Linked DNA regions of Homo sapiens: all the other regions are linked to region 4. The links are contacts of gene promoters, found by promoter capture Hi-C in blood cells and fetal thymus (Javierre and others, 2016). All regions are on one chromosome and are shown on one strand. Each heading gives the region's core, a stretch centred on a gene start or on the middle of the fragment in contact. The rest is flanking DNA. Distances are from core to core; before and after follow the strand shown. Region 1 overlaps GXYLT1 (glucoside xylosyltransferase 1). Region 2 overlaps APAF1 (apoptotic peptidase activating factor 1). Region 3 holds the start of YARS2 (tyrosyl-tRNA synthetase 2). Region 4 holds the start of ZFC3H1 (zinc finger C3H1-type containing). Region 5 overlaps IRAK4 (interleukin 1 receptor associated kinase 4). Region 6 overlaps ACTR6 (actin related protein 6). Region 7 overlaps PUS7L (pseudouridine synthase 7 like).

The links. The method cuts DNA at HindIII sites, captures the fragments that hold promoters and counts their contacts. A CHiCAGO score of 5 or more calls a contact.
Region 1: a contact is called between a fragment that was not itself captured here and the fragment with the promoter of ZFC3H1 in region 4, in 1 of 17 cell types (total CD4 T cells). The highest score is 7.5, in total CD4 T cells.
Region 2: a fragment that was not itself captured here is called in contact with the fragment with the promoter of ZFC3H1 in region 4 in 1 of 17 cell types (neutrophils); the score reaches 5.6 in neutrophils.
Region 3: a fragment that was not itself captured here is called in contact with the fragment with the promoter of ZFC3H1 in region 4 in 1 of 17 cell types (total CD4 T cells); the score reaches 8.7 in total CD4 T cells.
Region 5: a contact is called between a fragment that was not itself captured here and the fragment with the promoter of ZFC3H1 in region 4, in 1 of 17 cell types (total CD4 T cells). The highest score is 6.8, in total CD4 T cells.
Region 6: a fragment that was not itself captured here is called in contact with the fragment with the promoter of ZFC3H1 in region 4 in 3 of 17 cell types (total CD4 T cells, non-activated CD4 T cells and naive CD8 T cells); the score reaches 14.7 in total CD4 T cells.
Region 7: a fragment that was not itself captured here is called in contact with the fragment with the promoter of ZFC3H1 in region 4 in 2 of 17 cell types (total CD4 T cells and fetal thymus); the score reaches 6.8 in total CD4 T cells.

What each region holds. Positions count from the first base shown.
Region 1 is chr12:42,135,065-42,138,365 of GRCh38, reverse strand. All of the region lies in intron 1 of GXYLT1 (glucoside xylosyltransferase 1), which reads left to right. Among named protein-coding and RNA genes, the nearest start is that of GXYLT1, 8.2 kb to the left of the region's middle. The HindIII fragment of the contact is 3,412 bases long and covers 1-3,215 here.
Region 2 is chr12:98,658,929-98,662,492 of GRCh38, reverse strand. APAF1 (apoptotic peptidase activating factor 1) reads right to left here. Exons shown (of 27, transcript NM_181861.2): 5 at 3,150-3,333; 6 at 1-37. Among named protein-coding and RNA genes, the nearest start is that of APAF1, 15 kb to the right of the region's middle. The HindIII fragment of the contact is 4,050 bases long and covers 86-3,564 here.
Region 3 is chr12:32,755,744-32,759,497 of GRCh38, reverse strand. It overlaps YARS2 (tyrosyl-tRNA synthetase 2), which reads left to right and starts at 3,601. Exons shown (of 5, transcript NM_001040436.3): 1 at 3,601-3,754. The coding sequence starts at 3,624. RefSeq lists enhancers at 2,742-3,381, 3,586-3,754, 3,382-3,754. The HindIII fragment of the contact is 556 bases long and covers 1,356-1,911 here.
Region 4 is chr12:71,662,037-71,665,337 of GRCh38, reverse strand. It overlaps ZFC3H1 (zinc finger C3H1-type containing), which reads left to right and starts at 1,490. Exons shown (of 35, transcript NM_144982.5): 1 at 1,490-2,325. The coding sequence starts at 1,728. THAP2 (THAP domain containing 2) reads right to left here and starts at 1,037. Exons shown (of 3, transcript NM_031435.4): 1 at 758-1,037. The coding sequence starts at 828. RefSeq lists enhancers at 1,028-1,387, 837-1,395, 1,748-1,867. The HindIII fragment of the contact is 1,665 bases long and covers 888-2,552 here.
Region 5 is chr12:43,766,989-43,770,371 of GRCh38, reverse strand. It overlaps IRAK4 (interleukin 1 receptor associated kinase 4), which reads right to left. Exons shown (of 12, transcript NM_016123.4): 2 at 2,100-2,269. The coding sequence starts at 2,260. Among named protein-coding and RNA genes, the nearest start is that of IRAK4, 9.7 kb to the right of the region's middle. The HindIII fragment of the contact is 157 bases long and covers 1,186-1,342 here.
Region 6 is chr12:100,202,831-100,206,545 of GRCh38, reverse strand. It overlaps ACTR6 (actin related protein 6), which reads right to left. Exons shown (of 11, transcript NM_022496.5): 2 at 1,489-1,606; 3 at 802-870. Among named protein-coding and RNA genes, the nearest start is that of ACTR6, 3.9 kb to the right of the region's middle. RefSeq lists enhancers at 3,559-3,618, 3,250-3,715. The HindIII fragment of the contact is 5,782 bases long and covers 1-3,715 here.
Region 7 is chr12:43,750,945-43,754,538 of GRCh38, reverse strand. PUS7L (pseudouridine synthase 7 like) reads left to right here. Exons shown (of 9, transcript NM_031292.5): 2 at 1-203. Among named protein-coding and RNA genes, the nearest start is that of PUS7L, 6.0 kb to the left of the region's middle. The HindIII fragment of the contact is 3,386 bases long and covers 243-3,594 here.

The sequences.
Region 1 (3,301 bases), core at 260-2,759, about 30 Mb after region 4:
AAAAAGAAGATCTTACTTAGAGCTAGAAGTTAAGTTGTCTAGAAATTATTTATTTGTTTGTTTGTTTATTTATTTATTTATTTGAGACGCAGTCTCTGTCACCCAGACGCAGTCTCTGTCACCCAGACTGGAGCGCAGTGGCACTCTCTCGGCTCACTACAGCCTCCACCTTCTGGGTTCAAGCGATTCTTCTGCCTCAGTCTCCTGAGTAGCTGGGACTACAGGCGCATGCCACCACACCTTGCTGATTTTTTATTTTTAGTAGAGATAGGGTTTCCCCATGTTTGCCAGGCTGGTCCCGAACTCCTGACCTCAGGTGATCTGCCTGCCTCAGACTCCCAAAGTGCTGAGATTACAGGCGTGAGCCACTGCGCCCGACTTGGAAACAATTTAGTTGAAAATTAAATAGTAGTGATTTGGCAGTATCATGGGAATGGCCTCCTTTAATGTGTCCGTAAGCATCTTTGCTTTTCTTGCACAGTCACAGGGAGGGTATACATGCCTTGAAGTTGCATTACTGCTTTGCAGCAGCACTTCATTCATACTGTCAAATATTTATGCTGAATATGCCTAAATTTATCACTGACTTTTTTTTTTTTTTTTCAATTTGAGATGGAGTCTCGCTCTGTCACTTAGGCTGGAGTGCAGTGGCATGATCTCGGCTCAAGGCAAGCTCCGCCTCCCGGGTTCACGCCATTCTCCTGCCTCAGCCTCCCAAGTAGCTGGGACTACAGGCGCCTGCCACCACGCCCAGATAATTTTTTGTATTTTTAGTAGAGACAGGGTTTCACCGCACCGTGTTAGCCAGGATGGTCTCGATCTCCTGACCTTGTGATCCGCTTTTTTTTTTTTTTTTTTTTTTGAAACAGATGCTCTGTCGCCCAGGCGGGAGTGCAATGACGCGATCTCAGCTCACTTTAACCTCTGCCTCCTGAGTTCAAGCGATTCTCCTGCCTTAGCCTCCCAAGTAGCTGGGAGTACAGGTGCATGCCACCAAGCCTGGCTAATTTTTTGTGTTTTTAGTAGAGACAGGGTTTCACTGTGTTAGCCAGGATGGTCTCGATCTCCTGACTTTGTGATCCTTCTGCCTCGGCCTCCCAAAGTGCTGGGATTACAGGCGTGAGCCACTGCGCCTGGCCTAATTTTTGTATTTTTAGTAGAGATGAGGTTTCACCATGTTGGTCAGGCTCATCTCGTATCACTGACTCTTTGGTAAGTTTTGCATAGTTTTCACTGAAGCCTCCTATCTTGGACATTTTGAAATGAAAATTACTTTTTCTAGTTTAACTTAAAAGTACAACCAGGCATGGTGGCTCGTACCTGTAATCCTAGCAGGGAGGCAAAGGTGGGTGGATTGCTTGAACCCAGAAGTTCTAGACCAGCCTTGGCAAAACACTCTCTCAACAACAACAAAAATACAAAAAATTACCTGGGCATAGTGGTGTGCGCCTGTGGTCCCAGCTACTCCAGAGGTTGAGGTGGGAGGATTGCTTGAGCCCAGGAGGTTGAGGCTGCAATGAACCGTGTTCGCACCACTGAACTCCAGCCTGGGCGACTTGTGTGTGTGTGTGTTTGTTTGTATGTATGTATGTATGTATGTATGTATGTATGTATAAAAAACCTCCTGTAATTGGTTTTAAGTAAACTTCAAGTTTGACAAATGTTATTATGCCGAGTGTTGTTTTATCACATGTAAATACATGTAACCACCCCCAAAATTAGGATTAGGATACAGAATTGTTTCATCACCGCAAAGGTACCTTGTGCTACCCCTTGGTCAGTTGTAGACAAGCTACCTAGAGCTAGATGCTTTATGCCTTATTAAACTTGAGGATGAGCCATAGTAACATTTTATTTCAGTTTGATCCACAGTGAAAAAGTTCCCTTTTAGGACTTCAGTGCTTTTGAATGTCAGTATGGGTATAGTGAAGACATACCCACCTAACTCATATTAATGCTTTGCCTCATTAAAATTATTTAATAGAGTTACCTCTTTGAATGTTGGATGTTTAATATTCTGCTTTCAACAGTTTTAAGCAACTAATAGCCAGAACCTGGATAACTACCTTTACTTTTCCAGTATTTTCAAACTTTAATTTTTCTTTTTGGCCTAAAAGTGCAAGTGCTGTCTTCAGATGAGTTGCTTTTGCTAATTTATCTTATTGCTTCTAATAAGCCACTGATATGTCATAAGTTCTCAGTGTGAGTTTCTACTCTTTATCTAAATCTCCCAAACCAGTTTTTCAAAATGGGAGAATAGATATTTGGGAGTTAAAAAACTATAAACAAATTACTTCATTCCTTACAGCAATACCTAAGTGTTTTATGATTTTTTAATGGTATGCAGCATATGTATTCACTAGTGCATGTGTTCTTATATTTCCAGTAAAGAAAGAAAAACATCTTTCCTATATACTATGTGTTTTTTGACATTGAATTATGATCAATAAATTTACCTATAACTTGATTTTTCCTATCCAATTTTGACTGCATTAAACCTTTGTGAAGTAAATCATTACCCCCCAAAGAAACCCTGTATCCAGTAACAGTAACTCCCACCTTGCACTCCTCAGTCCCCCAGTCATGAGCAACCACGAGTCTACTTTCTGTCTGCCTGTTTGGGGCATTTTACATAAAGGAATCACACAGTATGTGGCCTTTTGAATCTGGCTTTCTTTTTGGCATAATATTTCAAGGTTTATCCACTGTAGCGTGTATCACTATATTTCATTCCTTTTTATGGACAAATAATAGTCCATTGTATGGATATACCACATTTTGCTCATTATTTGGTGGACATTTGAGTTCTTTCATACTTTTTGGCTATTATGAATAATGCTGCTCTGAGCATTCATGGACAGTTTTTCTGTGAACATGTTTTCAGTTCTCTTGAGTATATACTGAGGAATTTAATTGGTGAGTCATGGTTGCACAACTCTGAATATACGAAAAACCATTGAATTACACACTTTAAAAGGGAATTATGCTTGTATTATTCTGCTTTGCTTTGTAACAACCCCATACATCTAAACAGTTTACAATAGCAAGCATTTATTTCTTGCACACATTACATGTCTATGGCTATGACTTTGCTTGATATATCTTCTCATCCTGGGATCCAAGCTAAAGGAGCAATCCATACATTGGATATGCCTGGTCTTGTGGTAGTGGATGAGCAAGAAGCCAGATTGAACAACACAGTCCCATTTGAAGCTTCTACTTTGATGCCACAGTATCATGTCTTTTTATATTATTTTGGCCAAAGCAAGTCACTTGAATAAGGTCAAAGTCAATAAATGAT
Region 2 (3,564 bases), core at 861-3,360, about 27 Mb before region 4:
CCAAGAGTCCCAAACATCATCCAAGATCAAGAGAGACCTAATTTAAAAAAAAAATATTAATCACTAATGACACTTATCTTAAGCTTCCTTTTAAAAAGATAATCCCACCAGTGTCTTTTAAAATCTACCAAATTAAATTTTTTTTAAAACAAATAGATGGCTAGATCTAGGAAAATGATTCTTCCTCTTTGCTATACTCTTCTCAATATGCTGATTCAAATAAGGAAAAAAAAAATTAGAGACTGCCTTCTCCTCAAACCCTAAATCAGAACATATTAAAATTACAGATCCTACCATAAAAGGTTCAGCCATCACTTACTGAGTGCCAAAAAAAAAAAAAAAAAAGCGACCATTACTATCCAAGTAATGGGATTTTCCAACTCAGTCTTTAAGCACCAAAACCAAACTAGAACTGAGCTCAGGTTAGCATTAGAATGAATCATACAATAATGATGATATGTGACCATTTTTTACCTAAAAACTAGCAATTTCATATGTTGTAATCTAAAAGAATATTACCTTTCATTTGGTATACAAGTGGTTTTTTTTAATCAATTTGTTTATTCATAGTAACCAAGAACCTCTATGCCAGTTCCCAGTTGTTCTCTCCAAAAACTTTTCTAAACTCACTAGAACAGATGAGGGGAAAAAATATAACTAAAACCTGATAGCATAATTATACAATAACATTTTTGTCTGAATGACACACTATGGCTGTGCATTACAAAAAAAAAAATACTCTAGGCCTGTAATCCCAGCACTTTGGGAGGCCAGGGCAGGCGGATCACCTGAGGTCGGGAGTTTGAGACCAGCCTGACCAACATGGAGAAACCCCGTCTCTAATATAATATTAGCCAGGCGAGGTGGCACAAGCCTGTAATCCCAGCTACTCAAGAGGCTGAGGCAGAGAATCGCTTGAACCCGGGAGGCAGAGGTTGCAGTGAACCGATATCGCACCATTGCACTCCAACCTGGGCAACAAGAGCGAAACTCCATCTAAAAAAATAAAAATAAAAATAAAAATAAAGAAATACTCTAGGCACATACATAGGTTGAAAAATTACAAAAGCACAAACCAAATGAGACTGAGAGATTAAAAAAATATGCCTGGCTTTGTAAGCTAGTCTGACACATCTGAAAGTGGCTACATTATTTTACTCAACAGAAGTCAATTTTAATTTTGCAAAAAAGGAAAAGTAGAACTAGGGAAAAGTTACTGAGCAATTAAAGAGGGAAGGGTTAGTGATCTCAATCCTATTTCCTCTACACAGATCAATATCAAGAGAAGGAGGGGCCGAGCGCAGTGGCTCACGCCTGTAATCCCAGCACTTTGGGAGGCCAAGGTGGGCAGATCACGAGGTCAGGAGATCAAGACCATCCTGGTTAACACGGTGAAACCTCATCTCTACTAAAAATACAAAAAATTAGCCCGGCGTGTGGTGGGGAGCCTGTAGTCCCAGCTACTAGGAGGCTGAGGCAGGAGAATCACTTGAACCCAGGAAGCGGAGCTTCAGTGAGCAGAGATTGCACCATAAAAATATAACGAATATGCATCAGAATCACCTAGTAGGCTTTTCCCAAAAATACTCTTCTCACCCTATATTCTGATATTAATACCCTTACCAATTTGAGAATCACTGCCATACTCAGCAACTGCTACATATGAAAGTATACTGCATCCTTGGGTGCATTAGGGCATTTTTAAAAAGTGCAGAGCCACTACCTAACTCTCACTCAGTATACTATAACATTCCCAAGGAATGCTTTATTTATCTTTGTACTTGCAGCACTTGGCCCAGAACCTGGCACAACACTCAATGTTGGTTAAATGAACAAATGAAAGAGAGGCTGTTAAGATGACAGAAATCAAATTGTTGACTGAATCCAAGGTTATACTCTTAAGACAAGCAGCAACTAAACTGCTGTCTCCCTTTTGGCTAATGAAAACTGTGAAACACTTGATAACAGTGCCTGGCACATAATTATAATGGTAAGTATTTGCTGAATTAATTAACTGTTGAACAAACAAAACAAACTCACTCCTGAAGTACATGGAAGTAGAAGAGTTACACGTATATTTCTAGAAACTAAGACAATCAAACAGAAGAGCCCCATTAAAAATCCTTCCTGACTTTTTTTTTTTAATTGAAACAGGGTCTTCCTCTGCCACCCAAGCTGGAATACAGTGGCACAATCTGGGTTCACTGCAGCCTCAATCTCATAGGCTCAAGTGATCCTCCCACCTTAGCCTCCTGAGTAGCTGGGACCACAGGTGTGTACCACCACACCAGATTAATTTTTGTATTTTTTAGAAAGACAGGGTTTCATCATGTTGCCCATGCTGGTCTCGAACTCCTGGACTCAAGCAAACTATCCACCATGGCCTCCCAAAGTGCTGGGACTACAGGCATGAGCCACTGTCCCTGGCCCCTTCCTGACATTTATCAGTTGCCTGCATTTATTCTCTGTTGTTCTATGTTAACCCATTAGAAATAACGGATTCAAAGTAAGAAGTTTGCACTTTCTAGCAAAGACCACTCACCAACTCACCTACTTAAGACATTTCCTGAAAGCCTACAATGGTACATATGAGATGATGTGGTAGGTAGCATGCAAAGAGAAAAAGCAATTTTAGGCCGAGTGGCAGCCACTTTTTTTTTTCGTTTTAAATACAAGAGAGAAAAGCAGGAAAGCAATGGTTCTTTCTTTCTTTCTCTCTCTTTTTTTTTTTTTTTTTTTTCTGATGGAGTTTCACTCTTATTGCCCAGGCTAGAGTGCAATGGCACGATCTCGGCTCACTGCAACCTCTGCCTCCCGGGTTCAAGCGATTCTCCTGCCTCAGCCTCCTGAGCAGCTGGGATTACAGGCATGAGCCACCAACACCTGGCTAATTTTGTATGTTTAGTAGAGATGGGGTTTCACCATGTTAGTCAGGCTGGTCTTGAACTCCTGACCTCAGGTAATCCAACAGCCTCGGCCTCCCAAAGTGCTGGGATTACAGGCGTGAGCCACTGCACCTGGCCGCAATGGTTCTCTCTTATCCTCCCTATAGAACAGCAGGAAAAAGGCATGATGTTCTCAAGAGGTCAGTAGTTACATCTTATTGGGACATGGGACCTGACACACCAACTAAATTTGACCATCGGTACCTTGGGTGTTTGCGAAGCATCAGAATGCGGAGACGGTCTTTAGCCTCTTCAATATTAAGTGGAAGCCTCTGGGAAAAACTCTCATCCTGATCCAACCGTGTGCAAAGATTCTGCAGTTTCATCAGAAGCCCAGATTTGTCTTGTTTCCCAACTGAAACCCAATGCACTCCCCCTGGGAAACAACCTAGTGAGGGAAAGAATAATGAACTTAAGGCCTTTCAACAGGAGTACTCCTTTAAATGGTTTTACTGTTAAGCATCAGATTTACTCCAATTTACAATCCCATCACATCTTCAACTTCTCTTGATTTAGAGTAGAAATTTTACGTGCAAGATACTGGTAGGCTTTATATCCTGAATCTAAGACAAGTTGAAGATGTGAAGAAACTGAAGTTTGAAGTAAATCTGTGGCTTAT
Region 3 (3,754 bases), core at 384-2,883, about 39 Mb after region 4:
ATTCCTCAGACTTCTTTCTGCTGTCATTTTGCTGTGATGTTCGAGCAGCTCATATTTCAGCCCTAATCAGATCTCTGCTGTAATCTGAATATATATTTAATACAATGCTAGAGATAGAGAAATTTTCAAAGTTAAGTAGAGATCAGTTAAAATACCATTACTGTTTACTCTGTGTCTTTTGAATTCTATTATATTTATATTTGTTTACATTTTGAAAACCAAGCCATTTAAAACAGGGATCCCTTCAAAGAGAACATTTATGTGGCATTTTGTTGCAGGAAAAGGTAACTGTAAAACACATGTGCCTCTAATTCAAGGCCAGTTAACCTCAAGTTATTACAGTTGAGATAAATCATATTTTTAAAAATACTTTTTAACCCTTGTTCACTCACTTTTTAAGCCAATAAAAACAGCAAGAATTAACTTGGTCACTTTTTTGTAACCCAAATGCAAACCATGGGTGCAATCCCATAAAATTTTAGCCACGGATATAATTCCAAAGGTTTGAAAGTCCCATCTTCTTTATTGCTCCTGTCTTTGGGACAAAGCCCAATTTCCCCTATAATACCAACACAAATTATAAAAAGAGAGTAATTGATCTCACTGTATTTTCCAAACTTGTTGCTTGTTACTGTCATTAAGCTACTGTCAAGTCTCATCTAGCACCTCCTGTGACACCACCTTCTTTTTTTTTTTTTTTTTTTGAGACGGAGTTTGGCTTTCGTTGCCCAGGCTGGAGTGCAATGGCATGATCTCGGCTCACTGCAACCTCCACCTCGTGGGTGCAAGCAATGCTCCTGCCTCAGCCTCCCAAGTAGCTGGGATTACAGGCATGCGCCACCATGCCCGGCTAATTTTGTATTTTTATTAGAGATGGGGTTTCTCCATGTTGGTCAGGCTGGTCTCAAACTCCCAACCTCAAGTGATCCGCTCACCTCAGCCTCCCAAAGTGCTGGGATTACAGGCGTGAGCCACCGCACCCGGCCCGACACCACCTTCTATATCAGACTTTGCTGCCTCTTCATGAGATGCAACTAAACTTAAGAGACAAAGCAGAGCTCAAATCTATTTTTAAAAGACTTTATAATAAATTGTAATCCCAGGTAGAAATTTTCTATTTCTCATTATCCACAAAATTCTTCTCCATTAAGCACAGGTCATCAAGTAACCCTGACATCAAGTAACCCTGGCATACTGTTGTAACAAGTAGGATTTTCAAATTACTAACACACCTGTAAAAGCCAGAGAGTTGTGTGTCACCAGAAACACATGTGTGCCCTATGTATTAAGGTACTAAATAGAAAGCACCATTTGCTGTGTGTGTGACAGTACTGATTCCATGTTAGAAGAAAGCTTGCTTACTTGAATACAATTATTACTTTGCTTGATTTTGTAGATCATTCACTAAAATCAGCCTCAGAAAAACAGGATCTTGAACAGAGATAAAAGAAAATACCTAGATCAGCCTCTCTGTGAATGGGCTGACCGACCTAATAAGAATAGGCTGATGGTACCTGCAGAAAGCCACAAAATATTGACCAAGAAAGCAATGATTTACTGCCGACCTGAGACTGCACACGTTTCACAAAAATCTTTTTATCATCCTTTCTCTTAATTGCCCTTAAAAACCAGAGGTGGTCTTTGAACGCTAGCTCACTGCATCCCCCAGGGTTGCTGGTCTCTTGAATAAAGCTAACTTTACTTTCACTACAGCTCTTCTCTTGGGTTTTTGGCTTTCAAGTGACAAGTGGCCCAGATGTGAGTTTCCTTACGTGTGCTCAGGAGAATTTCCTGCCATACCTACTGAAATCTGTCCCTGATCAAAGTGGTGGACCATATGACTGCAGATTGGCCTTGCGAAGTAGCTCATGCCTGTAATCCCAACACTTTGGGAGGCAGAGGTGGGAAGCTTGCTTGAGGCCAGGAGTTTAGGACCACCCTGGGCAATACAGTGAGACCCCCGTCTCTACAAAAACAAAAAATAAAAATTAGCCAGGCATGGTAGTCCACACCTGTAGCTCCAGCTACTTGGGAGGCTGAGGCAGGAAGATCGCTGGAGCCTAGGAGTTCAAGGCTGCAGTGAACCATGATCCTGCCACGGCACTCCAGTGTGGACAACAGAGTGACACTTAAAAAAAAAAAAAACACTGAAGATCAACAGGTTATGATTGCAAATTTTAAGATATTTTGAACACACTATTTTCTTAAGCAGTTGGGAGTATGTTTAATAGCCTATTGAATGAGTATCTCAAAATCCTATTGAAGTTACTATTTGGCAATGAGAAACTAATTCACTGATAATTATACATGCAAAGAAACTAATTATTAAAATAAGTTTTCATTTTGTTAGATAACTTTATAACGTTAAAAAATGGAAAAGTCCTGTAGGGAATGATTTGGAACATGGCCCAGATCCCAGTCACAGGACCAAGGCACTCAATCCCCCAGCTGCTGGGAGTGTTGGTTGCTTATTGCTCACAGCTGAGTCCCTTCCTGCACATCTCACTCTCCAAAAGCCTTAACCCAGCGTTTTGCTTCCTCCCCAGAAACATCCCACATTTAATGAGCAGTCAGTAAGAGGGTCTAAAGGTCTGCCCCCTGGCCTCAATTCAGGATGACTCTGAAAGGAAATCCCGGCTCCAGAGCCCTTACTGGATTGCCTGAGGCCTCTATTACAAATTGTTCACAGTTCAACTTCTTTCTCCCTCCGCCCAACCCGGCCTCCCTCACTCCATTATAGGTGTTGTTCTTAAGAGCACACTCCAATTACCCTCCTGCAAACCAGTCTCCCCCCCAACTCAGAGTCCAGGGAATTCTACCTAAGACGATTTTGAAAGCGGTCCTAGAAATCAGGCTCTAACATGGGATTTTGAAGCTAGATCACCTGCCAGCCAGCTGCCAATAAGAACCTCATCCCTGGTCAGTATTCAGAGCACCTGTCACGCTGCACGATGTGATTACTAACTTGAATCCACTCATGCTAAGCTGTGTCCCAACCTAGTTAACTGTATTTAAAATAAATAAACCACAGGACTTGATGCATGTACTTTATTGCACTGAGTTTTTCTTGCTATACCTTGGACAAGACTGCCACCTCCTGGAAGAGCCGATGAATACTGGGGACGAGGTGCAATTAGGGAATCGGTACTATGAAATTGCTTGCGTCTCAGCAGCAACTCCCTATCTCTCCGCGAACTTAAACCAATTCCTAACCTTTCTCAACCTCTGTGAACAGCTTTTTGCATGGAACCAAGACTTCAAAGAACTTGCGCATCACAATCTTTTTACGTGAAAATGTAAATACAAGTTAGCATTTGTGAAGCGTTATGTGCCAAATGCTTTAATTTTTAAGGCTCACAACAGCCTTATGAGGTAGGAACTATCATAAGCAGATCCACACTGCTGATGGAAAAATTAAGTTTAAGGGAACGTAAGGCGACGGCTCTGAGGCGGAATCGCCACTTGGAGTCGGGACTCAACTGCTGAGAGCGCAAGCTCCGTAACTACGTAACCGTCTCGGGCATGCGCAGAAAAACACTGAAGCACCTTCCCTAGGAGCTGTAAGTAGGTGGGTGTGGTGGGAGCCTCTGCAATCCCAGCATTCCCTTCGTGCCGCTACCAAGATGGCGGCGCCCATCTTGCGGTCCTTTTCCTGGGGCCGGTGGTCTGGTACCCTAAATCTCTCAGTATTGTTGCCCTTGGGGCTGCGTAAGGCCCACTCGGGCGCTCAGGGGTTACTGGCAGCGCAGAAGGC
Region 4 (3,301 bases), core at 241-2,740:
TATAAAATATATAAAATCAGGACTGGTGTCACTTAACTTTTTAATGTGTCTTTTCTTCGGGCACGTGGCAGGCACTTGCAGAGAAGGTAAACATTTACAGAGTACCTGTTATTTTCCAGGCATTGTTCAAAGTGCTTTCAAGAGTTCTGGTTTGACAGAACTAAAGAATTTTGATTTTTCTTCCAGCAAACAAAAGAAAACCTAGGTTCTTTTTATTACTCTATTCTAGTAAGAACAGAAAGGTTATCTTTTGCACTTTAATTAACATCGCTTAATTCCATGGCTATCAAAGATGACTCAATTCCTCCGCAGAATTACTATGTGACTATTAGAAATCTAAATGCCTCCCATGTCAATTCATCTAGTGAGAATTTCCTAATTTTAACGGGAACACAGCAGGCTTTTACGGTGATTGCTGATTGGGAAGATCTCTTTCTCCCTTACGGCGTCATTCATGTCAAGGCCCGGTCTAACAGAGGAATAAAACAGTAGAAAATTACGATATCCTCCTGTTACTTTTTTTTACTAAGGGGTAATGACCAAACAGTACTTGGATTTCTTTTAGAAAATGAGTAAAGCTTCCCCGAAAGCAGAGAACAATTGGGCAGATTTGAGAAACACAAAGGACATACGATGCTTCCCTGCTACCAGCTGGGAAAGTTATTAGAATTAGCAGAATCCTCCTGTTCCTTCCACACAAGCGATAGCCACAATAGGAACTCCAGTTTCCGTCACCCCCACTCCCTGCCCAGGTTACCTGTGGAAGCTGATGTTAATGTGCTTGTTGTAGGTAGTGGCACAGCCCGCCGCAGCGCAATTGGTCGGCATTTCCCTTTCCCACTCATTCAGCGCCCTTAGGTCTCTACTGAGGCGCTGGCTGCTAAGCTTTCTTCTGGCAGAGGCTGGACAATCGAGGCAGGCGTGCCTTAATCGTGAGAGCTTAGTCGTGAGAGCGGAGTGGGAAGAAGGGGTGTGTATGTGGGGGCGGAGGCGAAGGACGGTCAGCCTTCCCTTTCTCTTTATTAATATGGCCGACTAGAGCCCACAGAACTGGCCCTCCTGGAGCTCTAGTCGCCTTCGCTTGACTTCACCAACATGGCGGACACAACCCGTTCTTTCTCCCCGCCCCCAAGAGGGAGCGGATCTACTGCGTTTCTTTGGCAGCGGTCCTCAGAGCAATTAAAAGGAAGAGGTGTTTTCCCCTCCGATTACTATAAATTACAAGAGTTTTACAATAAAACTCTCTCAAGGCTGCAACAGCAGCTCCACCTACTTCTGCATGCACCCAACTGTACCAAGCCAGACCCTGCGGTGGGTGTGACCCTAGGACCGGAAGAGTAAACCCGAAGAAAGACGAAAGACTACAAATCCTAGTGAGTATCGAGTTGGTCTTATTATCGCGTGAACTGGGAGCCTTTGTTTCCTGCGTGTCGCAGGAAGTGACGTTTCGGGTACAGCCGCTACCAGAGTCCCTTTCTCGCGAGGCGGAAGAACCCCGATCGCTGAGGAGCAAGGGGGCGCTAGGAAAGGGAACTGGGTTGCGACGGTCCGGCGAGAGAGAGCTGGGGTGCTGGGGTGCGGGGAAGTTGGGGAGCAGAGGCCGCTTGGTGTCCGAGTAGGGTAAGACCGCACCGACCCAGTCCGTTAGGAAAGAAGGGAAACGAGGCAATTGTCGGGCGGATCCCCGGACGGAGGGCTAAGGTTGTGTGGAAGGCGCTGCTCCCCGGATGGCGACCGCAGATACTCCGGCCCCGGCCTCCAGTGGCCTCTCGCCGAAGGAAGAAGGGGAGCTTGAAGATGGGGAAATCAGTGACGACGATAATAACAGCCAGATACGGAGTCGGAGCAGCAGCAGCAGCAGCGGCGGCGGGCTGTTACCCTATCCGCGGCGAAGGCCTCCTCACTCGGCCCGGGGCGGTGGATCTGGCGGAGGCGGTGGCTCTTCCTCGTCATCGTCCTCTTCTCAGCAGCAGCTGAGGAATTTCTCACGCTCGCGGCACGCGTCTGAGCGGGGCCACCTCAGGGGACCCAGCAGCTACCGACCCAAAGAACCGTTCCGGTCTCATCCGCCTTCTGTACGGATGCCTTCGAGCTCACTGTCCGAAAGCAGTCCCCGGCCGTCTTTCTGGGAGCGGAGCCACCTCGCCTTGGACCGTTTCCGCTTTCGAGGCAGGCCTTACCGGGGTGGGAGTCGCTGGAGTCGGGGGCGAGGAGTGGGTGAGCGAGGAGGCAAGCCGGGGTGCAGACCTCCTCTGGGAGGAGGAGCAGGATCCGGGTTCAGCAGCAGTCAGAGCTGGCGAGAGCCCTCTCCACCTCGGAAGAGCTGTATCCTTAACGTGGCGGTCGGCGCTGGGTGTGTCACTAAAGTTCCCTTTAGCGTCATTACTAGGTCTGTGAGACGAGTGTAACTTTGAATCATCAGAACCGCTTATTTCTCCCTGTGTCAGTATACTTTAAGTTGTTCTTTGGTAATTCCCCATGTGTCACACTATAGCGTTATTCTTAAGACTGCTTCATTGGGTATATTAACGTGCTGTGGATTGGGTTAAGCTTATGAAATCTAAGACAGTTAAGTCTGATTTGTAATAATACCTTAGAAGCCCAAGTTTCATTAGCATTTGTATTTTTGCTGGTACAGAAACTTTGTGTTTTATATGAAGTTGACTTGGATTGTTAGAGAAAAAATATTCATAAACAGTTTAAGTAATATTGTTGCTTTATCATATTGCAGTTTGACGTTGAAAATTGTAAAGTTTTAATCTGCACAGTCCTGCACTATTTTTGTGATTCTGTTTTTATCTTGATTTATTCCGGTTGCTGCCTTTTAAAGTGGGGGGGGGAGGGGTAAAAAAAAAACAACTCTGGTGTCTTTACCAAGTCTGTTTCAGAGCTTTTTGATTCATTTGATCTTTTTGGAACACTTTACCTCCTTTACGTTTCTATCTGTGTTCACTTTTGCACATTGTGTAACTTCGTGCTGACTAAATGAGGGCCAGAGAGAGAAAGATAAACTTATCAGCATTTTTATTTTAATACGTTAGAGTGGAGGAATGTGTATGCGAGGGTGGAGATTACGGGTAAGTTGAGAAAGGAAATAGTAACATTCCAGATTTTTCCTACTTCTAACCTTATTCTCAGTTTTAAACATTACTGAGTTTACTCAGCATTTATACAGAGGAATCAATCATCCGAAGGTTTCCTGTTTTATAATGGGTTTGTAAAACACTATCTTGACTTAATCTGTGATCATTGCAAAAATTGTTTAAAGACTTTCATTACTGGTTGTAATTCACATAGTGTG
Region 5 (3,383 bases), core at 15-2,514, about 28 Mb after region 4:
ACTAGCAATATTACTTCCCACATGACTTAAGACTCTGATAGCTATATAATTTTTAATAAATGCACCTGCTTAATTAAAGAAACAGAACACACAAAAACTTAGGAAATTATTCCTTTGATCTTAACTGTAATTCAATTAAATTGAAAAAAATCACAAAGTCGGCTTTCAACCCATTTCTTTCCATTTCTTTAAAATCAAAAATTAGTTTTGAAAAGTAACATTTAAAAATTTAACCAATATTGTTTCTTTCTGTTTTTCCTCTAAAGATTTTATTTTTAAAAATTTCAAACTTACAGAAAAGTTGAAAAAATGATAGAATGAACAACCATTCACCTAGATTCACCAATTGAATAATTGATAAAATTGTGCCATATCTGGGCTCTTGTGCATTCTCTCTTTCAATCTGTGTCTGTGGGTGTGTGTGTTTTAGAATACGGGCCAGATGTCTTATAGAATGGGTCTAACAGCCTAGATTTATCTGACTACTTTCTCATGATTAAATTCAGATTAAGCATTTTGGTAGAAATACTACATAGGTATAATGTGCCTTTCCCATTGTATCACATCCAGGGGTACATATTAGCATTTTGTACCATTATTATTGGTGCTAAAGTTTGATCACTTGGTGAAGGAAGTGTACTTCAGATTTCCTCATTAAAAATGTACCCTTCTCTTTCATACTTCACAAGTAATTTGTGTACAATACTTTTTCTCTATCTATTGAGGGGGTCTTGCTCTGTCACTCAGGCTGGAGTGCAGTGGCATGATCATGGCTCACTGCAGCCTTGACTTCCTGGGCTCAGGTGATCCTCCCACCTCAACCTCCCAAGTAGCTGGGACTACAGGCGTGCACTACCACACCCAGCTAATTTTTTGTAGTGATGGGGTTTTACCATGTTGTCCAGGCTGGTCTTGAACTCCTGGGCTCAAGCAATCTGCCCACCTCGGTCTCCACAAGTGTTAGGATTACAGGCATGAGCCACTGTGCTCAGCCTATAATACTTTAAAATCTTGTGCATATCCTGCTCACATGCACGAGAACAACCACCTTTCACCTTATGCTTTTAGGTTCAGTGATGAGCCTTGCATGAATCAGTTACTCATTGGTGGTTGCAAATAGGTATTTTTCTCATTCTACCATTCTTTTCACAATTATTTGCAGGTATTATTCTGTAAAGAAAAGCTTTTTCTGTCACAGGAATGAGTCTTGGAAAAAAGAAAAAAAAAAGAGAAGAGCTTTATCTTCCTGCCACCACTGCCCCAATTATCTTCCATAAGTTTTTAACAGTAATATCAAAAAATTATCTTTAAACATTGGCTTAACACAGTTTAAACTTAAGCTTCTTTCAAGTAATTTAACATGTTCGCTCTTCTTATGAGGAAATATTTCCTGCAAGGGAGCCAAGTCTTTTAGGTTCTTTCCCAGATTAATGCTGAAAATAACAAATAGTCTTCTTTTCCTTTTGCTACCAAAGAAACATTTTGACATAGGTTTTAACTGCAATGACTGACAAAAATAAAATATGCATGCATATTTTACACTAAATTGAGCAGAGATGAGTAAAAAGGAAAAATTGAAATTATCTGAAGACAGCACTGAGAAATCCTAGCTAAGATTTAAGAATTCTGTGCACAGAAGTGTACACTTGTAAGCAACAACTTTAAAACGTCAAATTGAAAAAGTCCCAAAATACATTGTTAGAGTGTGTTAGAGATTCACACACTTTGAAATTTAAGCTCTAGATTTTTACCAGACATTCTTGTAACATTCTTATTTTCCTTCAATCTGGAAATGAGAAGTGTGAGGCAGAGTGAACTTCACTTGGCTTGCCAAACAGGGAACCACAGCAAAGGTGGGAATCTTGATTCTAACCCAAAAAACTTATTTGAGAGATCACAGTATTAGCCCTATTGACATATGGGACAAAGAAGACAAAACTGCAAAAGGAACAATCAAAAAGAGGTTACCTACTACCAATGTCTCCTCCATAGTGGAGAGGTTTACTTTCTAAACTGCCACATTAGACAGTACTTATACCAATTAATCATTCCATATTGTGATGTAAGAATTTAAAAATACAAAGAATTTTATCTGTTACCTTATGTGAAACTGATTGTATCTATCATCACCAGATGGTTTTTTAATAGCTACAGCTAACTTCTTCCATCCTTCTTGAGGATCAATAAAATCTGACAGCTTCCTAATTAGTCCAACATTGAGGCAGCGCACATATGTTGATGGTGTTATGGGTTTGTTCATCTTCTATTCCTAAAATATGGAAAAATCTCATTAAAATTTTACAGTACTTTTAGAGATGACATCTGTAAGCTTATATATCACACTTTGCTATATCATATGAAATGTCAGCAACTGATTATACCATAATAAAGAAACATTCCAAAGTCAAGTCATTGATATCCTAAGATGAAATTAAAATTGTAATTCATTTGTCCAATTATCCTCTGGGTTTGCTTCCTTTTTCCACCCATTAATAGCAATAAAAATCGGAGGACTTTTTTCTGACACTGATATTTTCCTAGTAAAATTTATAGAAAGGGGCAAAAAACTTACCAGAAAAATTCTTAAGAGTAATATCAACAAACTATCAGAATTAGCATATTCAGAAATCAAATCTATTAATAAAAACATTTACCTTTCAATTTATGTTTCTCAATTAGTACTTATTTACAATTAAAATTTATGCAACATTCTTTGGTAGAAGTAAAAAAAAAAAACGTACTGAAATGATTTGTGTAGCATTAACAGATATGGTCCACCCACCCACTTTTCACATACTTTGCTCTTCCTTGACCTCTGCACATTTTTTGAGTCCATGAGATCTGCCTGACCACAATTCATTTGCTACTACGCCAAAACCTGTGCTTCACCACTTCAACTACTCTCTAGACAGAATCTTTATTTCTGCAATCCCCCTTTACTTCTGCTACTCCATCCTGGAGAGCTGCAGCCAGGGATAAATCTAACAACTTTACTTGTACACCAGGGTTGCTGATGTGAATACAAATTTATGGTAACCCCCTTTCCACAGGGCCTTCAACACTGCCGTTAATCCTTCCACTTGTCTTCTCTCATAGTCCTTAGTGACTATTTCATACCTTTACTTCTTTCTATGTGGATTTTATTTGTTCTGCGTGTCCCTCATTCTCAATAGGAAATGATCTTTCCTTCCAATTAAGACAAATAGACTCAGATATTCTTCTGTCAATTATTTTTGCTTCCCTATATATATTTTAAAAATACAATTTTAGAGTAAATAATGTGTTCATATGGAACAACATTCTAAAACTATCAAAAAGAGTAAAAAGCGAAAAGCTTCTCTGTATCAGAGGCTTCTATGTTAGTATTCACTTCTTCTCTTTGG
Region 6 (3,715 bases), core at 9-2,508, about 29 Mb before region 4:
TGTCTATTAAAAAGAAAAGAAAATCATAATAAAAAAAAACTTGCAGATGTTTTATTTATGTATTTATTTATTTATTGAGACATAGTCTTACCCAGGCTGGAATCCAGTAGTGCAATCTCGGCTTACTGCAACCTCCACCTTCCAGGTTCAAGCAATTGTCCTGCCTCAGCCTCCCAAGTAGCTAGGACTACAGGTGTGTGCCAACATGCCTGACTAATTTTTGTATTTTTAGTAGAGACGGGGTTTCACCAGTTGGCCAGGCTGGTCTCAAACTCCCAACCTCAAGTGATCCACCCGCCTCAGCCTCCCAAAGTGCTGGGATTACAGGCATGAGCCACTGCGCTTGGCCTGCAGATGTTTTAAATTAAAAAAAAAAAGGCAAAGGGCAAGATGCTTAAGATATTCAAGTTTATGTAATTCTCTCACACACATTCTTGAGAAGTATTAAAACTTGAACATTTTCTCCTTATACCTATAATCACATTACAGACATTAAAAACACAAAATCCTCTTGTAATATTCATGTATTTAGATATGTAAGCAAAAACGTTTGTGAAAATTAAGATGATATAGTGAATTGATCTAATAATAGAAATCTGAAGTAAAATTTTGAGTTTCATACAGACTATCTTTACTCAACCTCTACTTCAACATGGAAATTTTATTCACTTGCATTTATTATTTATTTTAAATGTGCGGAGAACATTATTCATAAGTTTATAAATCTTAAAATGTAAATTCTAATTTTTCATTACAATTAAACATGGAAATAGAATTTTAATACATACTCTAATTTGTTACCTGATACATTTCTTTTCCAAAAAGGTAATCCCAAACTTGTCTCTGAACATCCCAATTCACCAAGTAGCCCTAAAAAATGTTTTTATAAATTTAATTATCAAGAACATTTGAATAATTTTTAAAAATCAGATTATAAATATTTGAATAATTTTTAAAAATCAGATTCCAAATCACTGATTTCTATCTATGGTTACCATTTCCAGTGTAATGCTGTATGAATTTCTTTTTTTTAATTTAAAAAAAAATTTTTTTATTATACTTTAAATTCTGGGATACATGTGCAGAACGTGCAGGTTTACTACATAGGTATACTGCTGTATGAATTTCAAACCAATTATGTTAGTATGTTTTTCTCCTTTAAAAAGTTAAAAAACAAACTCACAAATAAGCAATAACTAAAATGTCAGAGGTTCAAAAGACACACCAATATATACAGTTGCCTCCCTATACTTATTTTCTTAAATTAATGTGTGCATACCACTTAGATTTAATGTAAGTAAAAATCAGTACTCACAATAAGTAACTAAATCATGGTCGTTTATTTTTACCCAAACAATTAAATTTTAATTTGGGTTTAATTAGGTTGTAGTTAAAATTTAAGTTACACACAGCCTTTTATATACAATTAAAATTATCTTTAAATTTAGGTCTACAATGCTAGAAATGAAACATAATTAATTGGATTACCTTTTGAAAAGGGAGGATGTAAAAGAGTCCAGAAGGGTCTTTTATTTCATCTATCTGGTTGGCAGTAAAAGTTTTAAGACGTGCTGTTTTTGACCGGAACTGACAATTAGGAATAACCCTAGAAACAAGGAAACAAATAATTATCCCCTAAATATTTAGTTCCTAAAAACATTTTTACTTCACCACCACTCTTGATGCCAAAAGATTAGCGTATCCTAAGATTGGTATATCCAGTGTTTCTCATTCTGTCTTAAAATAATACCAAAGGCTGGGAGTGGGGGCTCATGCCTATAATCCCAGCACTTTGGGAGCAGGATGATTGCTTGAGACCAGGAGTTCAAGACCAGCCTAGACAACATAGCCAGAACCTGTCTCTACAAAAATAAAAAATAAGGCTGGGCATGGTGGCTCACGCCTGTAATCCCAGCACTTTGGGAGGCAAAGGCGGATGGATCACTTGAGGTCAGGAGTTCGAGACCAGCCTGGCCAACAGGGTGAAACCCTACCTCTACTAAAAAAAAACACAAAAATTAGCCAGGCATGGTGGCACATGCCTGTAGTCCCAGCCACTAAGGAGGCTGAGGCATGAGAATCACTTGAACCTGAGAGATGGAGGTTGCAGTGGTCTGAGATTGCACCCCTGCACTCCAGCCTTGGTGATGGGGCAAAACTCAGTCTCAAAACTAATAATAAAATAAAACAGAAAGAGAAAAATACGAATCAGGCAGGCATGGTGATGAGCATCTATATTCCTATCTTCTAGAGGAAGGCTGAGGCAGGAGGATTGCTTAAACGCAGGAGTCTGCAGCTGCAATGAACTGTGATCCCACTACTGCATTCCAGCCTGGGTGGACAGAACAAGGCCCTGTCTCTATTTTAAAATAATAATAACACAAAAATGCCCCTCCCCCATTTTTTTTTAAAGTTCAGTATGTAACAAGTTCTATACTGGATCCTTTCTTTCTCTAATAATCCTCAAGAAATCCTTACAGGTAAGTATTGCTTCCGCCACTGCAGAGGCGAAAGCCAGTGCTTTGGTAAAGGTCCTAGTCTTTCTGGCTTTAACACAGAAAGTCTTAATACCATTTGGATTAAAGATTCACAAGTTAGGCCGGGCGCGGTGGCTCATGCCTGTAATCCCAGCACTTTGGGAGGCCGAGACAGGCAGATCACGAGGTCAGGAGATCGAGACCATCCTGGCTAACACGGTGAAACCCTGTCTCTACTAAAAATACAAAAAACTAGCCAGCCTGGTGGCGGGCGCCTGTAGTCCCAGCTACTTGGAAGGCTGAGGCAGGAGAATGGCGTGAACCCGGGAGGCAGAGCTTGCAGTGAGCCAAGATCACGCCACTGCATTCCAGCCTGGACGACAGAGCGAGACTCCGTCTCAAAAAAAAAAAAAAAAAAAAAAAGATTCACAAGTTAAAAATTATGGCCATAAAAATTAAGTTTCCAGCCGGGAGCAGTGGCTCACAGCATGTAATCCCAGCACTTTGGAAGGCGGAGGCGGGCGGATCATGAGGTCAGGAGTTTAAGACCAGCCTGGCCAACATGGTAAAACCCCATCTCTACTAAAAAATATAAAAATTAGCTGGGCATGGTGGTGCATGCCTGTAATCCCACCTACTGGGGAGGCTGAGGCAGGAGAATTGCTTGAACCCAGGAGGCGGAGGTTGCAGTGAGCAGAGATTGTGCCACTGCACTCCAGCCTGGGCGACAGAGCAAGACTCTGTCTCAAAAAAATAAAATAAATTAAGTTCCCATGAAGCCAAAGATCTTCAATCAGCAAGATGCTATAGGGCAGGGATCCCCAACCGCAGGGCTTGTGGTCCGGTACCTGTCTGTGGTCTGTTGGGAACCAAGCCTTCATAGCAAGAGGTGAGCACCAGGGTGGGGAAGGAGGGTGGGGCCGTAAGCATTAACACCTAAATTGCACTTCCTGTCAGATCAGCCATAGCATTAGATTCTCATAGGAGCAGGAACCCTATTTTGAACTGTGCATGCAAGGGATATAGTTTGTGCACTTTTTTTGTGAGAATCTAATACCTGAGAATAGTTTCATTTCAAAACCATCGCCCACACTCATACCCCCAACCACACGTTAAAATTGTCTTCCACGAAACCAGTCCTTGGTGCCAAAAAGGTTGGAGACTGCTGCTGCTACAGGGTACAGAAGTAGCAACTTTTTTTTTTTTTTTTTGAGACCGAGTCTCGCTTTGTCGCCCCA
Region 7 (3,594 bases), core at 686-3,185, about 28 Mb after region 4:
TACAAACAAAGACCACAGAAAAGCTGTCCACCATTTTGTCAACAAAAAGTTTGGAAACCTTGTGGAAACCAAATCTTTTTCTAAAATGAATTGCAGTGCTGGTAATCCGAATGTGGTGGTAACAGTAAGATTTCGGGAAAAAGCACACAAACGTGGGAAAAGGCCTCTTTCTGAATGCCAAGAAGGAAAAGTTATATATACAGGTAATTTAATAAATCATCATCCATTTTCTTGGATAAGCTTAGCTAAATTTAAAATTGTGAAAATGAATTGAACAGACTTGGCTAGAGAGATTGGAAAGAATATATGATTTACCTTTAGGGAGAGGAATTGCTGATAAGCAATTTAAGCAACTCTAGGAATTCTTATTTATTCTGTTACTTACTAGAAGATGATAAAACCTTTTAAATTACACTGAATTTAAAAATTAGCCTTACTGATAACCTAGGCATTTATATTAGCCTATTCACAAATGTATAAAGTTGAAGCAGTTGGTTCGTGTTTAATAAGTTTTATTGAAGGTAAATCTTGATTTCATATTTTGGAAGTCATCTCAATTAAAATTAAGTTTTTAGAGACTAGAAGAATATATTTACTGTGCTTGGGAAAGTGAAGAGATACTCTGTAATCCAAAACAAATTATATTTCCCTACCCAAGGTAGGGAACCTGAAAACTTGGTCCTGCTGGTCTTTAGACAAGATGTTCTGAAACTTTAGCATGCATATAATCATCAAAAGTTCTTGTTAAAACAGATTTCAGAGCTCCATTCTCAGTTTCTGATTCTGGGGCTTTCACAGATTTCCAGGCAGTGTTTTTTCCTGGTCTGCTATGTTTTGAGAATCACTGTTTTAGGGTCTGTGTTTAATTCCCATGGTGGCTGGAACTGATGAACTCTCACTGTAAAAGTCCAGCTGACTAGGTTTAATTGGCCTCAATTCTACTTGAAGGATGGGAACTGTTTCAGATGATCATATTTAATAAATTTATTTAGCAAGATATTTTAAGATAAAACCAGGAACCTAAATTTGCACAGTGACACAGAAATAGGATGGTGCCATGTAGGGACTACAGGTGCAAATGAAAAGAGTTTGGACCTTGGAACTATGTGGGTTTGATTTGATATTATGACTTTTAGTTCACAAAAAGACTTATGAAATTTTTAACATGTTTAAGATTTGATTTCACAAATGTAAAAATGGGAAGAATAATACCTTGGGCAAGTTACTTAATAATTCATAACTTTTGGTTGTACTTGAAAAATAGGGTAATAGGAAAGCCTGACTCACAATGATATTCGAAGGATTAAATGAAATAATGAAATTGTTTACTATGTAATAGTTACTTAATATTAGGCATATAGTAAGTGTTAACAGATATATCCATTTTGAAGGAAAAACAATACTAGCTTTACTTGTAGAAAGAGGAATTGCTGGTGAGTGATTTAAGCAGCTCTAGGAATTCTTATTTATCTTATACTACTTGAAATTCTAACAATATTAATTTGGGTTAATGAGTAAAAAAATTATAGAACTTTATATATTAGTTTAAATTCACTTTTCTAAAGTTGTGAATAGTTGGAGGCATATGTTAAAAGGAGGAATGATGGTTCAAAAAACCTTTTATTTTTAATTTTAAATTACATTAAAATATACATAACATAAAATGTACCATCTTAACCATTTTTAAGTATCAGTGGCATTGAGGACAGTCACATGGTTGTACATCCCTCACCACCATTCATCTCCAGAATTTTTTCACCATCCCAAACTAAAACTCCATATTTATTAAACAATTCTTCCTCCTCTCCAGTTCTGAAAAATGGGAACCACCATTTTTCATTCTGTCTCTATGGATTAGACAACTCTAGGTGTCTCATATAAGTGGAATCATACAGTATTTGTCTTTTTGTAATGGGCTTATTTCACTTAGTATGTTGTCGAGATTCATCTATGTTGTAGCATGTGTTAGAATTTCCTTCCCTTTTAAGGCTGAATAATACCCCATGGTAGGTGTATGCCACATTTTGCTTACCCATTTGTCTGCCAGTGGATGGGATATAATGGTCAGTAAAGCACACGTGATATTTACTTTGTAAGCATTCAGCCTTGGAACTTGGAAAGAATTTGAGGGAGAATGTGGATGTGAGGTGACTTCTGAGGCTAGGTCATAAAAGTATTACACTTCTTGTCATGTTCTTGGATTGCTCACTCTGGGGAAAGCCAGCTGCTATGCTGTGAGGATACTCAAAACAGCCCTTTGGACAGGAACTAGAGCTTCATGCCAACAGCCAGTACCAACCTTCCAGCCACGTAAATGAGCCCCTTTGGGAATGGATCCTCCAGTTTCTTTCAGGCTTTTAAATAACTGCAGCCCATCAGAGTGAACAGGCAACCTACAGAATGGAAGAAAATTTTTGCAATCTACTCATCTGACAAAGGGCTAATATCCAGAATCTACAAAGAACTCAAACAAATTTACAAGAAAAAAACAACCCCATCAAAAAGTGGGCAAAGGATATGAACAGACACTTCTCAAAAGCAGACATTTATGCAGCCAACAGACACATGAAAAAATGCTCATCATCACTGGCCATCAGAGAAATGCAAATCAAAACCACAATGAGATATCATCTCACACCAGTTAGAATGGCGATCATTAAAAAGTCAGGAAACAGGTGACAGGTGCTAGAGAGGATGTGGAGAAATAGGAACACTTTTACACTGTTGGTGGGACTGTAAACTAGTTCAACCATTGTGGAAGACAGTGTGGCAATTCCTCAGGGATCTAGAACTAGAAATACCATTTGACCCAGCCATACCATTACTGGGTATATACCCAAAGGATTATAAATCATGCTGCTATAAAGACACATGCACACGTATGTTTATTGCAGCACTACTCAGAATAGCAAAGACTTGGAACCAACCCAAATGTCCAACAACGATAGACTGGATTAAGAAAATGTGGCACATACACACCATGGAATACTATGCAGCCATAAAAAATGATGAGTTCATGTCCTTTGTAGGGACGTGGATGAAGCTGGAAACCATCATTCTCAGCAAACTATCGCAAGGACAAAAAACCAAACACTGCATGTTCTCACTCATAGGTGGGAATTGAACAATGAGAACACCTGGACACCGGAAGGGGAACGTCACACACTGGGTCCTGTTGTGGAGTGGGGGGAGGGGGGAGGGATAGCCTTAGGAGATATACTTAATGTAAATGACAAGTTAATGGTTGCAGCACACCAACATGGCACATGTATACATATGTAACAAACCTGCATGTTGTGCACATGTACCCTAGAACTTAAAGTATAATAATATATATATATAAATTAAAAATAAATAAATAAATAACTGCAGCCCTAGCCACATCTAACTGCATGCAACCTCAGGAGAGCCTGAACTGGAACCACCAAACCAAAGAGTTCTTGAAGTCCTGATCCACAGAAACTACAGGAGATAAATGAATATTGTAAGCCACTAAGATTTGAAGTGACTTGTTACGCAACAATAAATAATACATAGCATTTAACCGTAGACATGCATAAATTACTGATCAGCAACAAACTCAAGGAACGATTT